Regions from separate parts of the Homo sapiens genome. Here region 2 is linked to region 1. Evidence: promoter capture Hi-C in human tissues and cell types (Jung and others, 2019). All regions are on one chromosome and are shown on one strand. The core of a region is centred on a gene start or on the middle of the fragment in contact, and the rest is flanking DNA. Distances in the headings are between cores, read along the strand shown.

Region 1 (6,475 bases), core at 2,901-5,400:
TAATAAGCAAATTACTATAATAAGCAAATTGAGGCCCGGCGCGGTGGCTCATGCCTGTAATCCCAGCACTTTGGGAGGCCAAGGCAGGCAGATCACGAGGTCAGGAGATCGAGACCATCCTGGCTAACACGGTGAAACCCTGTCTCTACTAAAAATACAAAAATTAGAAGGGTGTGGTGGCCCGTGCCTGTAATCCCAGCTACTTGGGAGACTGAAGCGGAAGAATCGCTTGAACCTGGGAGGCGGAGGTTGCAGTGAGCTGAGATCGCGCCACTGCACTCCAGCCTGGGAGACAGAGCAAGACTCCATAAAAAAAAAAAAAAAAAAAAAAAAAAAAAAGCACATTGATATAATAAGCAAATTGCAACGGGAAGTCGCCGAAGCGAAAAAAAAATATATATATACACACTCACCAGACTATGAAGGATTCACCAGCAACAGTCTGGGCTCCAGAGTCAGCCACCAGTCCGTGCACAGACAAGGAGAGGTCTCCTGAAGCTTTGGCGCAGTCTGGGACCCTAACTCTTTTTGTAATGAGTTGTTTGGCATGAGGCCCAGTCACGAGGGCCCTTCACGACTGGGCCCAAGGAACGCAAAAAGGTCAACTCGTTTTCGTGATTGTCTATTGTTTTTCAATAACTAATGTATAGGAATAGATTGAAATAGAGATTTCTCCGAAACAGCGCTGGATGAACGCCTCAAGGGGCTCACACGACCCATTCGAGGACTTGCTGACCATTGTTTGTGTCCATGTTCAATTGAGTTCGAATTTAATATTTAACTTTTCCTCCACACATGGTTATACAAATATCTGTTCAAATCCCTGTTTTCGATCCTTTTAAGTATGCACCCAGAAGTGAACTTGCAGCATCCTATGGTAGTTCTATTTTTCATTTTATGAGGAACCATCATATGGATTTTCATACTGCTGCACCATTTTACATTTCCATAGCCCTGTGTAAGCATTCCTCCTTCCCTACAGTTTCACCAAAACTCGACAGGTTTTTTTGCTTGTTTGTTCTTAATAGCCATCCTATTGGGTGGTATCTCATTGTGATTTTTATTTGCATGCCCCTATTGATGAGTGATGCTGGGTATCATTTTGTATGCTCATTGGCCATTTGCATATGTTCTTTAGAGAAATGTCTATTCAAGTCCTCTGCCCAATTTTTTTTTTTCTTTATTGAGACGGAGTCTTGCTCTGTCACCCAGGCTGGAATGCAGTGGCATGATCTTGGCTCACTGCAAACTTCACCACCCGGGTTCAAGCGATTCTCGTGACTCAGCCTCCTGAGTAGCTGGGACTATAGGTGCAGGCCACCCGCCCGCTAATTTTTTTTGTATTTTTTTGTATTTTTACTAGAAACGGAGTTTCACCATGTTGGCCAGGCTGGTCTTGAACTCCTGACCTCAGGTGATCTGCCCGCCTTGGCCTCCCAGAGTGCTGGGATTATAGGTGTAAGCCACCACACCTGGCCTTCTGCCCATTTTTAATGGGCATTTGTTTGGTTGCTGAGTTGTAGGAGTTCTTAATATTGTTTGGTTGTTAGCCTCTAAGCATATATATATGATTTACAGATATATTTTCCTATTCCCTGGGTTAACTTTTGACTCTGATGATAGTATATCCTTTGAGTTACAAAGGTTTTTTAATTTTGATGTAGTCCAAGTTATCTATATATTGTTGTCTGTGCTTTTGGTGACATATTCAAGAAATCACTAAGAAATCCAGTGTCATGAAGGTATTGATCAAATCATTACCAAATCCAATGTCATGAAGGTATTGATCAATGTTTTCTTTAAGAATTTTATAGGTTTGGAATTTAGGTTTAGGCCTTTGATCCATTTTGTGTTAACTTTTGCATATGGTGTAAGGTAAGAACCCACCTTCATTCTTCTGCATTTTGAAATCAAGTTTTTCCTACACCGTTTGTTGAAAAGGCTGTCTTTTTCCCAATGAATGTTCTTGGCACCCATGTGGAAAATCATGTGACCATATAAGTGAGAGTTTCTTTCTGGGCTCTCTTTACTCTTCCATTTTTCTGTATATGTGTCTTTATGTATTATAGTACCACACTGTTTTAATTCCTGGATCTTTGTAGTTTATTTGGAAACCAGGAAATGTGAGACCTTCAACTTTTCTTTTTAATGGATTTATACATTTTTTCAATTTACCTTAGAATTGTACATTGAGTTGGATAATAGTAACAAAACCTGCTAGGCTTTGGAGAGTGGATTCCCAAGGTTTTTCAAATACACTGTCTCATTGGAGCCTTAGTACTCCTGATCAAATAAAGACAGACAGATTTTTTATTTTGCCAGTGAGAATCACAGTCTGGAGAGGCTGTTGAATCCCAACACAGTGGTCACTGATGGGTCTGATACTGGAATTGGGTCTGTGTCCACCAGGCTGTGGGGCCTTTTCCAGAAACCAGGCTCCTGCACAGGGACTGGGGCTGAAGGAGGGACTCTCCCGGGAGGAGGCAGCCTGGTGAGAAGGATGCCAGCAGAAGTCTCAGGCCTCTAAGGCCTCCCCTCCTTCCCTGGTCTCTGCAGCTGAAGTTGCATCAGGAAGCTGTATCTTCTAACTGCTTGAGGCAACTTCTCAGATAAACCCTCTGAGGTGAATCCATAAACTTTTACAACTTGCACTTTCAAAGGATGATGCAAGGAGCAACAATTGCACCAGCTTGAGCCATTTGAGGGTGGTGTGGAATTGGAAACTGTGTCAAAGGCAATGGAACCCTGCCTCTAGCATCAGAAAGCTAAGCCTGTATTCAAAATAGATGCCTGCCAGGTGCAGTGGTTCACACCTACAATCCCAGTGCTTCAGGAAGCCAAGGTGGCCAATCCTGGTTTGAGGCCAGGATTTCAAGACAAGCCTGAGTCACATAGAGAGACCCCCTAACTGGGTGTGATGATGCATGCCTGTAGTCCCAGCTACTTGGGAGACTGAGGAGGATCACTTGAGCCCAGGAGTTCAAGATTTCAGTGAGCCACTGTACTCCAGCCTGCACAATACTGTGAGACACTGGCTCAAAAAAAAAAAAAAAAATGCCAGAGCAACATAAAATTGTAAGCATTCATTACCTTTCTGCCACCATGCATTGGGGAAAGTGGATCCCTCAGCTGATGCTGACCATTGGCAGACAGGATGGTGTGTGTGGAGATGGCGGGAGGGTCTTAGGGATGTGGGATGAACCCTGACACCATCTACTACCCCATCCTTCACTGCAGACCCAGTTCTACCAGTTCTCATCAAAAGGGTGAACTGCATCCCAAACACAGTCCACATTCTGTGGCTTCCATTCCTGAAGACATCTCCAGAAAGTCTCAGAAGAAAATTAAACTATATGAGAGAACAAATCTTTTCTATCGTATAATTATTACATGTTCTACAATCTGGGGTTAGATCATAAAACTGCAATTATGGGAAATAAAGGTCAAATAAAGAAGGAAAGAAAGAAAGACAAGAAGGAAGGAGGGAATGAGAGAAGAAAGAGGAGGGAATGAGGGAAGAAAGAGGAGGGAATGAGGGAAGAAAGAAGAGGAAAGGAAGAAAGTAAAAAAGGAGGGAGGGAGGGAAGAAAAGGAATAATCACAAAGAAGGAAGCAACGTCTCAGTTATTCTAGGCAGTTCATTACTATGAATCATCAGAACAAACAAGCTTACAAATCTACATTCCTAATTTGATGTGAAAAATCACATCACTGTTCTTATGAAATAAAGGATAGCAAAGTTGGAGTGTGGTCTCAACGTCAAGTTGCCAGGTTATAGTTCACCTCTATCTGCTTCTTCCTTTGTGGAACAAGGTGAATGAGAAAAGACATGTCAAAGAAATGTTTTCAGGGCCAACTGTGGTGGCTCATGCCTATAATCCCAGCACTTTGGGAGGCCGAGGCAGGTGGATCACTTGAGGTCAGGAGTTTGAGATCAGCCTGGCCAACATGGCAAAACCCCATCTCTACTAAAAATACAAAAAAAATTAGCCAGGTGTGGTGGTGCACACTTATAATTCCAGCTACTTGGGAGGCTGAGACACAAGAATTGCTTGAACCCGGGAGGTGGTTGCCGTGGGCTGAGATAGCGCCATGGCACTCCAGCCTGGGTGACAGAGTGAAACTGTGTCTCAAAACAAAACAAAACAAAAACAAAAAGAAAGAAATGTTTTCAGGATTAAATAAAGCCATACATGTAAAGCAACAAGCACAATCCTAAAAGGGAAACACGTTGCCTTGACTATTGTATGATTTTCATCCAATTTCTTCCAGAGGAAACAAGAACACAACCAAGTTTAGGTGAAGGGTGCTAACATGCAAATGGGTAATTTTTGAGGAAAGCATGTCATCATATCAGCACTCGATATGATAAGTGTTTCAAACAACACGTGAGAACTCTCAAGAGTGGCTCTAAGAAAATGGACCAAAGATGGAACTTTAAAGACTGTATATAAAACGGAAAAGTTAGAAGGAAATTACCAAGGGAGTTACTGAGAGAACCTAAAGTAAAAACATGTAGCAAAAGCCAAATCACAAGTGTTTTGGGAAGAGTAAAAATGAAGCATGTGATTTTCAGGAGAAAAAGAGCCAGGATATTTATTTCTTGTTTTCTTTTAGTTTTGTAGTTGTTGTTTTTGAGACAAAGTCTCACTCTGTCGCCCAGGCTGGAATGCAATGGCGCAATCTCAGCTCACTGCAACCTCTACCTCCCAGATTCAAGCAATTCTCCTGCCTCAGTCTCCCAAGTAGCTGAGATTACAGGCACCCACCACCACACCCAGCTAATTTTGCATTTTTAGCAGAGATGGGGTTTCACCACATTGGCCAGGCTGGTCTTGAACTCGTGACCTCAAGTGATCCACCCACCTCAGCCCCCAAAGTGCTGGGATTACAAGCATGAGCCACCAAGCCTGGTCGAGCCGGGATATTTAAATTCACATTTGCCTAATGGACCTACAACATCCACTTAGTTCTGAGACCTTGATCTGTCATGGACAAGAGGCTGGTCTGCTGAGGAACTGAATGTTCATGAGCAGGGCTCTGTCAAACATAATCTTGCCTTTGTGACCTTTTTATAAACCCAATGATCTCTCTGACAACCACCACTTAGACAGATTGAACCCTAGGCTAACACATTCTGCTGCCAAGTGGATGTTATTAATAAGGTGTTTCACAGCACAACAAACTAAACCCTTCCAAGAACAAACTCGATGCAAAGGAAAGTAGATTGAACCCTACTTTCTGCCATGTACAAAAATCAAATCAAATAAAAAACAGATCAACAGGCCTGGCGCAATGGCTCATGCCTGTAATCCCAGCATTTGGGTGGCCGAGGCGGGTGGATCACTTGAGGTCAGGAGTTCAAGACCGGCCTGACTAACATGTGAAACCCCATCTCCATCAAAAATACAAAAATTAGCCAGGCGTGGTGGCGGGCACCTGTAATCCCAGCTACCTGGGAGGCTGAGGCAGGAGAATCACTTGAACCCGGGAGGCAGAGGTTGCAGAGAGCCGAGATCACACCTCTGCACTCCAGCCTGGGTGACAGAGAGAGACTGTGTCTCAAAATAAATAAATAAATAAAAAGTCAATAGCTTAAATATAATGTAGCTAAAATCATAAAACTCTTAGAAAAAAACATACAGGAATATCTTGATTACACTTTATTTGGAAGCAGATTGTTAGATACAACAGTGAAAGCATGAGTAACAAAACAAAAAAATAGATATATTGAACTTCATCAAATTTTAAAACTTTTCTCTATCAAAATGTTCTGTTAAGAAAATGGAGCATGGTACCAATAGAAACACAGATACAAAGGACAATGGAACAGAAGAGGTGGTGCAGAAATGAATCAATGAATTTATGGCAAATCATTTTTTGACAAAGATGCCGAGAACACACAGTGGGGAAAGGACAGTCTCTTCCATAAATGGTGCTGGGAAAACTGGAAAACCACATGCAGAGGAATGAAATTAGCTCCTCATCTCAGGTCTCAGTAAACCTGAAAATGCAAAACCACTAAAAGAAAACATAGGAATAATCCTCCATGAAATTACACTGGGCAATGATTTTTTGGATAAGAACCCAAAACACAAGCAACAAAGGCAAAAACAGAAAAATGAGATTGCATCAGGCTAAAAAGTTCCCACACAGCAAAAGAAACAATCTATAGAGTGAAGAGACATCCTATGGAATGGGAGAATACAATTGCAAAATTAAAGAGGGGGCCTGGTGTGGTGGCTCAGGCCTGTAAACCCAGCACTTTGGAGAGGCCAAGGCAGGAGGATCACTTGAGCCCAGGAGTTTGAGACCAGACTGGGCCACCTAGGGAGACCCCATCTCGACTAAATTTTAAAAAAGAAAAAACGACCTATTCAAGAGGGAATATTCAGGCCAGGCACAGTGGCTCATGCCTGTAATCCCAGCACTTTGGGAGGCCAAGGCGGGTGTATCACTTGAGGTCAGTTCGAGA
Region 2 (6,475 bases), core at 2,266-4,765, 82 kb before region 1:
GTGAAAGAAAGCTCCTCTTCACCTAAGACTGTCAGCTAAAGAATGGAGAAAGAACAACAGAACTAGGAAAAAAAACTGTTAACCTCTCAATGTAAAAACAGGTTCAGGAGAAGATGACTGAGTGATGTTAAAAGCCACTGGGTGAGGCCAGGCGCGGTAGCTCATGCCTGTAATTCCAGCACTTTGGGAGGCCGAGGCGGGAGGATCACCTGAGGTCAAGAGTTCGAGACCAGCCTGACCAACATGGGTGAAACCCCTTCTCTACTAAAATTACAAAAATTAGCCAGGCGTGGTGACCCACATCTCTAATCCCAGCTACCCAGAAGGCTGAGACAGGAGAATCACTTGAACCGGGGAGGCGGAGGTTGCAGTGAGCCAAGATCACGCCACTGTACTCCAGCCTGGGCGGCAGAGTGAGACTCCGTCAAAACAAAAACAAAAACAAAAAAAAACAAAACAAAACAAAACCAAAAAAACCACTGGGTGAAAGGCTGTTGGGGAACAGAATATTCCCCTGTAGCCAAAGTATCACTTATAGATTACTATAAGAAAAACATGACTATACAGAGATGAGTACCTTGACCAAATGCGTAGTATCACTAACAAACTTGTAGTATGTGACTACTGATAGGATATAATATGAAGCCCAGTACATTACCTAGAAAATGGAAGCCTTGGATCTGGCCAGTCTAACTCAACAGCCACTAGCCCCATGTGGCTAGTGCAACTGAGGAAATGAATTCTTAATTTTATTTACTTTTAATTCAACTTTAAAAATAAAATTGTTATTGAAAAACTTTTAAGTATGTTTGGAACAACCTGGGTTTGTTAATCTACTTTTTCAATAGTTAATTTTATAAACTCTAAATACAGATCAAGAATTTCCAATGAAAATTAGCTGTAAGTGTAAAATACGTGCAGGATTCCAAAGACTTAGTACAAAAGAAGTGTGAAATGTCTCAGTTTTAAACTGACTACATTAGTCACTAATTTCAAAAACTTATATTGATAACTGGATATGCTGCATTTTTAATATATTAAAAATGATATCACACATACATTTAACATTTTCTAATTTGGCTACTAAAATTTTTAAAAATTACATCTGTGCCTTGCATTATATTTGTATTAGACAGTACCACTGTAACCCCAACATCCACTTTACAAGAAATACAGGACATAGGTAAATCAAATAAAATCACAGGAAAACATCATTGCATGAGAACGGCAGCATTTTACAAGATAATGCTCCTGAAATCTTCAAAGGCCAAAATTTTATTTTTAAAAATTCAGGTGAATGGCGGGGCATGGTGGTTCACGCAGTACTTTGGGAGGCCAAGGCCGGCAGATCACGAGGTCAGGAGTTCGAGACCAGCCTGGCCAACACGGTGAAACCCTGTCTCTACTAAAAATACAATTAGCCGGGCGTGGTGGCACACGCCTGTAATTCCAGCTACTTGGGAGGCTGAGTCAGGAGAATCGCTTGAACGCAGGAGGCAGAGGTTGCAGTGAGCTGAGATCACACCACTGCACTCCAGCCTGGGACAGACAGACTCCGTCTCAAAAAAAAAAAAAAAAAAAAAAAAAATCAGGTGAATAGTCTAGTTAAAAAACAGATTTAACAGATCTAAAAACATGCAAACAACCTGGCAACTATAATGGTGACTATGGTGACTTTTGGACAGCTGGGGAAATCTGATTTGATTTGGGGGTGGGGATGGACAATGAAGTCTTGTTTTAAGCTTGTCTTCACTTTCAGGAGGTATTTGAGATACACGCTTAAAAGGGGAAAGTTCATTCACTTCCAATTTAAATGGCTCATGATAAAGTACATATACAAAAAAATGAAACAAATCTTAACAACTAGTGAATGTAGTTAAGGGTTAAAGACTTTTTTTTTTTTTTTTGGAGACGGAGTCTCGCACTGTTGCCCAGGCTGGAATGCAAGGGTGCAATCTTGGCTCACTGCAACCTCTGCCTCCCAGGTTCAAGCGATTCTCCTGCCTCAGGCTCCTGAGTAGCTGGGATTACAGGTGCCCACGCCCGGCTAATTTTTTGTATTTTGAGTAAAGACGGGGTTTCACTATGTTGGCCAGGCTGGTCTCAAACTCCTGACCTCGTGATCCGCCAGCCTCAGCCTCCCAACATGCTGGGATTACAGGCGTGAGCCACCACACCTGGACTAAAGACATTTGTTTTACTCGAGCTACAGATGTTCTCTAGATCAGTATTTGTTTTTTTTTCTTCTTTTTGAAACAGGGTCTCACTCTGTTGCCTAAGCTGGAATGCAGTGACACAATAATGGCTCACAGCAGCCTCGACCTCCCATGCTCAAGTGATCCTCGCATCTCGGCCTCCAAAGTGGATGGGACCACAGACACCACCATGCCCAGCTAATTTTTTATTTTTAGTAGAGACAGAGGCTTGCCCTATTTTTTCCAGGTTGGCATCAAATTCCTGGGCTCAAGCGATCCTCCAGCCTCAGCCTCCCAAAACGCTGGGATTACAGGTGTGAGCCACCTTGCCCCGCCCTCAGTAAGACTTTCAAATGAGTAACTGGTAGAAAACCCACCTGTCAAAAGTTATCTTCGCATTCATTATCAATTCAATCCCTCCTGCTAGTAAATCAGCCCGCACCGTGTTCCTGGGGATGCCCTCGTTTTGAACCTCTGGGGGAATCTACAGGGCGCTAGAGTGAGATCTAGGTGATGGCCTGGAACCACAGTTGAGTAGTCCTGTGTTTTTCCTTGGTGGTAAATTTTACAGTTATGTGCATTCATCCACTCATGCATTCGATGGTATCAGATCCATGTGCTCTCGAACAACCACCTGAAAAGGTTTCTTTCCACCTCGACACAACTTAAACTTCAAGACCCGACACCCACAGCCAGAACAAGTGCATGAAGTGCTCACCGGGACACGACAGAATTGTCAGGTTGCTGAGGCCAGGAGGACACCAAGCGAAGGTCACCGTGAACAGGAAGGCAGAGATGCTGTTCCTTATAGAGAAAAGGCACAACGCTGGATGTGGAGACTTTTTTTTTTTTTTCCATTAGAGATGGTTGGGGGGGGGGGTCTCCCTATGTTGCCCTGCCTGGTCTTGAACTCCTGGCCTCAAGTAATCCTCCTACCCAATCCGCCCAAAGCGCTGGGAATGACAGGCGTGAGCCGCCGCGCCGGGCCCTATGAGGCTTCTGCAGAGGGGAGCAGGGAAAATGGAAAGGCCGTGCCCCCCGCCTCCTCCCGGGCCGAGGCCCCAGCGCAGCCGCCTCGACCCCTGAGGACAGACCTGACTGTGGCTCTCAGAGGAGGGGCCGCGACTTGGGAGAGCCCACAAGATGCTCGAAATGCCCGAAAGTGCACGGGACAGGCTCCATTTCACTGGGCACCTCCCCTTTCCACCCTTCTACTCTCGCGTGGCTGCACCGGGACACCACCGAACGCCGCCCAGAAACAAAAACTTACCTCAGACGCCAACGGGAACGCGCTGTTAAGATGGCGGCCGTTATGCGCATGCGCCCACGCAGACACGCCGCGCACGCGCAAAGGCTAGGACCACCTAGGGGGCGGGGCCTCGGGTTCCCGGGCCCATCAGCTGCTGCGGCTTTTTCCAACCCAGAGCTGAGAGGAAATGCTGTTTACCTCCCCGAAGAGCGCAAGTGTCACCGGTAGGGGGTCTTGACTGCAAGCTGTCCAGGTTACTGGCGTTTTGAACAAAGAATTAGACAAAACGCCCAGCAAAGCAAAGAAAGAATGAAGCAACAAAAGAACAAGAGCTGGGATTTGTTGAAAACGAAAGCATACTCCACAGTGTGGGAACTGGCCAAGCGGCAGCTCAAGGGCTCCGAAACAGAACCTTCATGAGTCCCAATACCTCCTAGAATTTTCCCATTGGCCACTTCATGCTCACCTCCTGTAAATGAAGCGGTAGCCCGCGTTCAGTCTGATTGGTTGCAGAAAGCAGCCAACCAGAGTCTGAAGTTACAAAGGTCACACTCCTGTGCAAACATCTGATTGGTTGCAAAAAGCAACCAATCAAAGGCTAGGGTGAAGTTACGACGTTACAAAGTTACACTTCTATGCAAATGAAGACTCAACCGGCCATCAGTCTGATTTGTTGCAGACAGCCAATTTCCTATCTGCCAGCAGAAAAGGTCAAAGGGAGTAGCCTCTGGTCCTTTTGTTATTTAGGCGAGGAAAGTGAGGGTTTTCCTTTCAATTTAGTTCTAGGAAGTCGGCCTGAAACAGCCTTAAGTTCCCTGCCTCCCGACTCTATTCAGCCTCACAAGGGCTTGATTTTTGGTCATCTCACACTCAGAGACTAGAATGCTCCTATTGGAATTTGTTCAAAAATTAGCACATAGAGGCTGGGCCTGATGGCTCACGCCAGTGATCCCAGCACTTTGGGAGGCTGAGGCAGGCAGACCACTTGAGCTCAGGAGTTCGAGACCAGCCTGGGCAATATGGCAAAACCCTATTCCTATAAAAAAGACAAAAAACACAAAAATTAGGACGTAGTTAAGAGCATAGATAAGATTCATGCGGACTTCCTAAAAGTGAAAACACCAAGATCTGGGGTCGGGGAATCTAAGGCCAATTCGTGATAATTTCCTAAAGTTAAATCAAAGGAAAAACACCTGGGGCTGGGGGCAGGGCACCTAAGGCCAATTAACACAAACTTCCTGAAGCTAAACCAAAAGGAAAAACCCCATCTCCCCAAGATCAAAGACTACTCTCTCTACAGTAAAAAGTAAAGTAGAGGTTCCTCTTCAAAGACTTTCCTGCCCATCTAATTAGGAATAAATAGTAACTTCTGTTAGAAGCAAAATTTATTCAAAGACCTGTACTAATGTGTCCGGAATTGGTGGGTTCTTGGTCTCACCGACTCCAAGAATGAAGCCGGGGACCCTCGTGGTGAGTGTTACAGATCTTAAGGTGGCACGTCTGGAGTTTGTTCCTTCTGATGTTCGGATGTGCTCGGAGTTTCTTCCTTCTGGTGGGTTCGTGGTCTTGCTGGCTCAGGAGTGAAGCTGCAGACCTTCGCGGTGAGTGTTAGAGCTCTTAAAGCGGCGCGTCTGGAGTTGTTCATTTCTCCCGGTGGGCTCGTGGTCTCGCTGGCTTCAGGAGTGAAGCTGCAGACCTTCGCGGTGAGTGTTACAGCTCATAAAAGCAGTGTGGACCCAAAGAGTGAGCAGTAGCAAGAGTTATTGCAAAGAGTGAAACAACAAAGCTTCCACGGCGTGGAAGGGGATCAAAGCGGGTTACCACTGCTGGCTGGGGCAGCCTGCTTTTATTCTCTTATGTGGCCCCACCCACATCCTGCTGACTGGTAGAGTCAAGTGGTCTGTTTTGACAGGGCGCTGATTGGTGCCTTTACAATCCCTGAGCTAGACACAAAGGTTCTCCACATCCCCACTAGATTAGCTAGCTACAGAGTGTCGACACAAAGGTTCTCCAAGTCCCCACCAGAGTAGCTAGATACAGAGTGTTGATTGGTGCATTCACAAACCCTGAGCTAGACACAGGGTGCTGATTGGTGTGTTTACAAACCTTGAGCTAGATACAGAGTGCCAATTGGTGTATTTACAATACTTTAGCTAGACATAAAGGTTCTCCAAGTTCCCACTAGACTCAGGAGCCCAGCTGGCTTCACCCAGTGGATCTTGCACTGGGGCTGCAGGTGGAGCTGCCTGCCAGTCCCGCGCCATGCGCCCGCACTCCTCAGCCCTTGGGTGGTCGACGGGATTGGGTGCCGTGGAGCAGGGGGCGGCACTTGTCGGGGAGGCTCCGGCTGCACAGGAGCCCACGGAGGAGGAGGCGGGGGAGGAGGGGGTAGGAGGGGGAAGGAGCGGGGGGTAGGGCAGGGGGAGAGGAGGGTGGGGGTGGGGAGGGGGGTGGGGAGGAGGGTGGGGGGGAGGAGGGCGGGGGGAGGAGGGGAGGAGGAGTGGGGGAGGAGGGTGGCAGGGGGGAGGAGGGCGGGGGGGAGAGGAGGGCGGGGGGGAGGAGGGCGTGGTGGCGGGGAAGGCTCAGGCATGGCAGGCTGCGGGTCCCGAGCCCTGCCCCACGGGAAGGCAGCTAAGGCCTCGCAAGAAATCGAGCTCAGCGCCAGTGGGCTGGCCCTGCTGGGGCACCCAGCACACCCTCCGCAGCCATTGGCCCGGGTGCTAAGACCCTCATTGCCCGGGGCAGGGACGGCTGGCTGCTCCGAGTGCAGGCCTGCCAAGCCCACGCCCACCCGGAACTCCAGCTGGCCCGCAAGCACCGTGCGCAGCCTGGTTCCCGCTAGTGCCTCTCCCTCCACACCTCCGTGAAGCTGGGGGAGCCGGATCCAGCCTTGGCCAGCCCAGAAAGGGGCTCCCACAGTGCAGCGGTGGGCTAAAGGGCTCCTTAAGTGCCGCCAAAGTGGGAGCCCAGGCAGAGGAGGCGCCGAGAGCGAGCGAGGGCTGTGAGGACTGCCAGCACACTGTCACCTCTC

Evidence for each region. The method cuts DNA at HindIII sites, captures the fragments that hold promoters and counts their contacts. A contact is called where the count stands out against the background at its distance.
Region 2: the fragment with the promoter of ZNF559 here is called in contact with a fragment that was not itself captured in region 1 in 6 of the 25 tissues and cell types used here (H1 embryonic stem cells, mesendoderm cells, pancreas and 3 more).

Annotation. Positions count from the first base shown.
Region 1 is chr19:9,239,925-9,246,399 of GRCh38, reverse strand. It overlaps a transcript of OR7E24 not described here. Among named protein-coding and RNA genes, the nearest start is that of OR7E24, 7.8 kb to the left of the region's middle. The HindIII fragment of the contact is 9,125 bases long and covers 1-6,475 here.
Region 2 is chr19:9,321,219-9,327,693 of GRCh38, reverse strand. ZNF559 (zinc finger protein 559) reads right to left here and starts at 3,515. Exons shown (of 7, transcript NM_032497.3): 1 at 3,466-3,515; 2 at 2,914-2,999. It overlaps ZNF559-ZNF177 (ZNF559-ZNF177 readthrough), which reads right to left and starts at 3,515. Exons shown (of 13, transcript NM_001384659.1): 1 at 3,466-3,515; 2 at 2,914-2,999. RefSeq lists a silencer at 3,112-3,251 and an enhancer at 3,422-3,671. The HindIII fragment of the contact is 8,356 bases long and covers 1-6,475 here.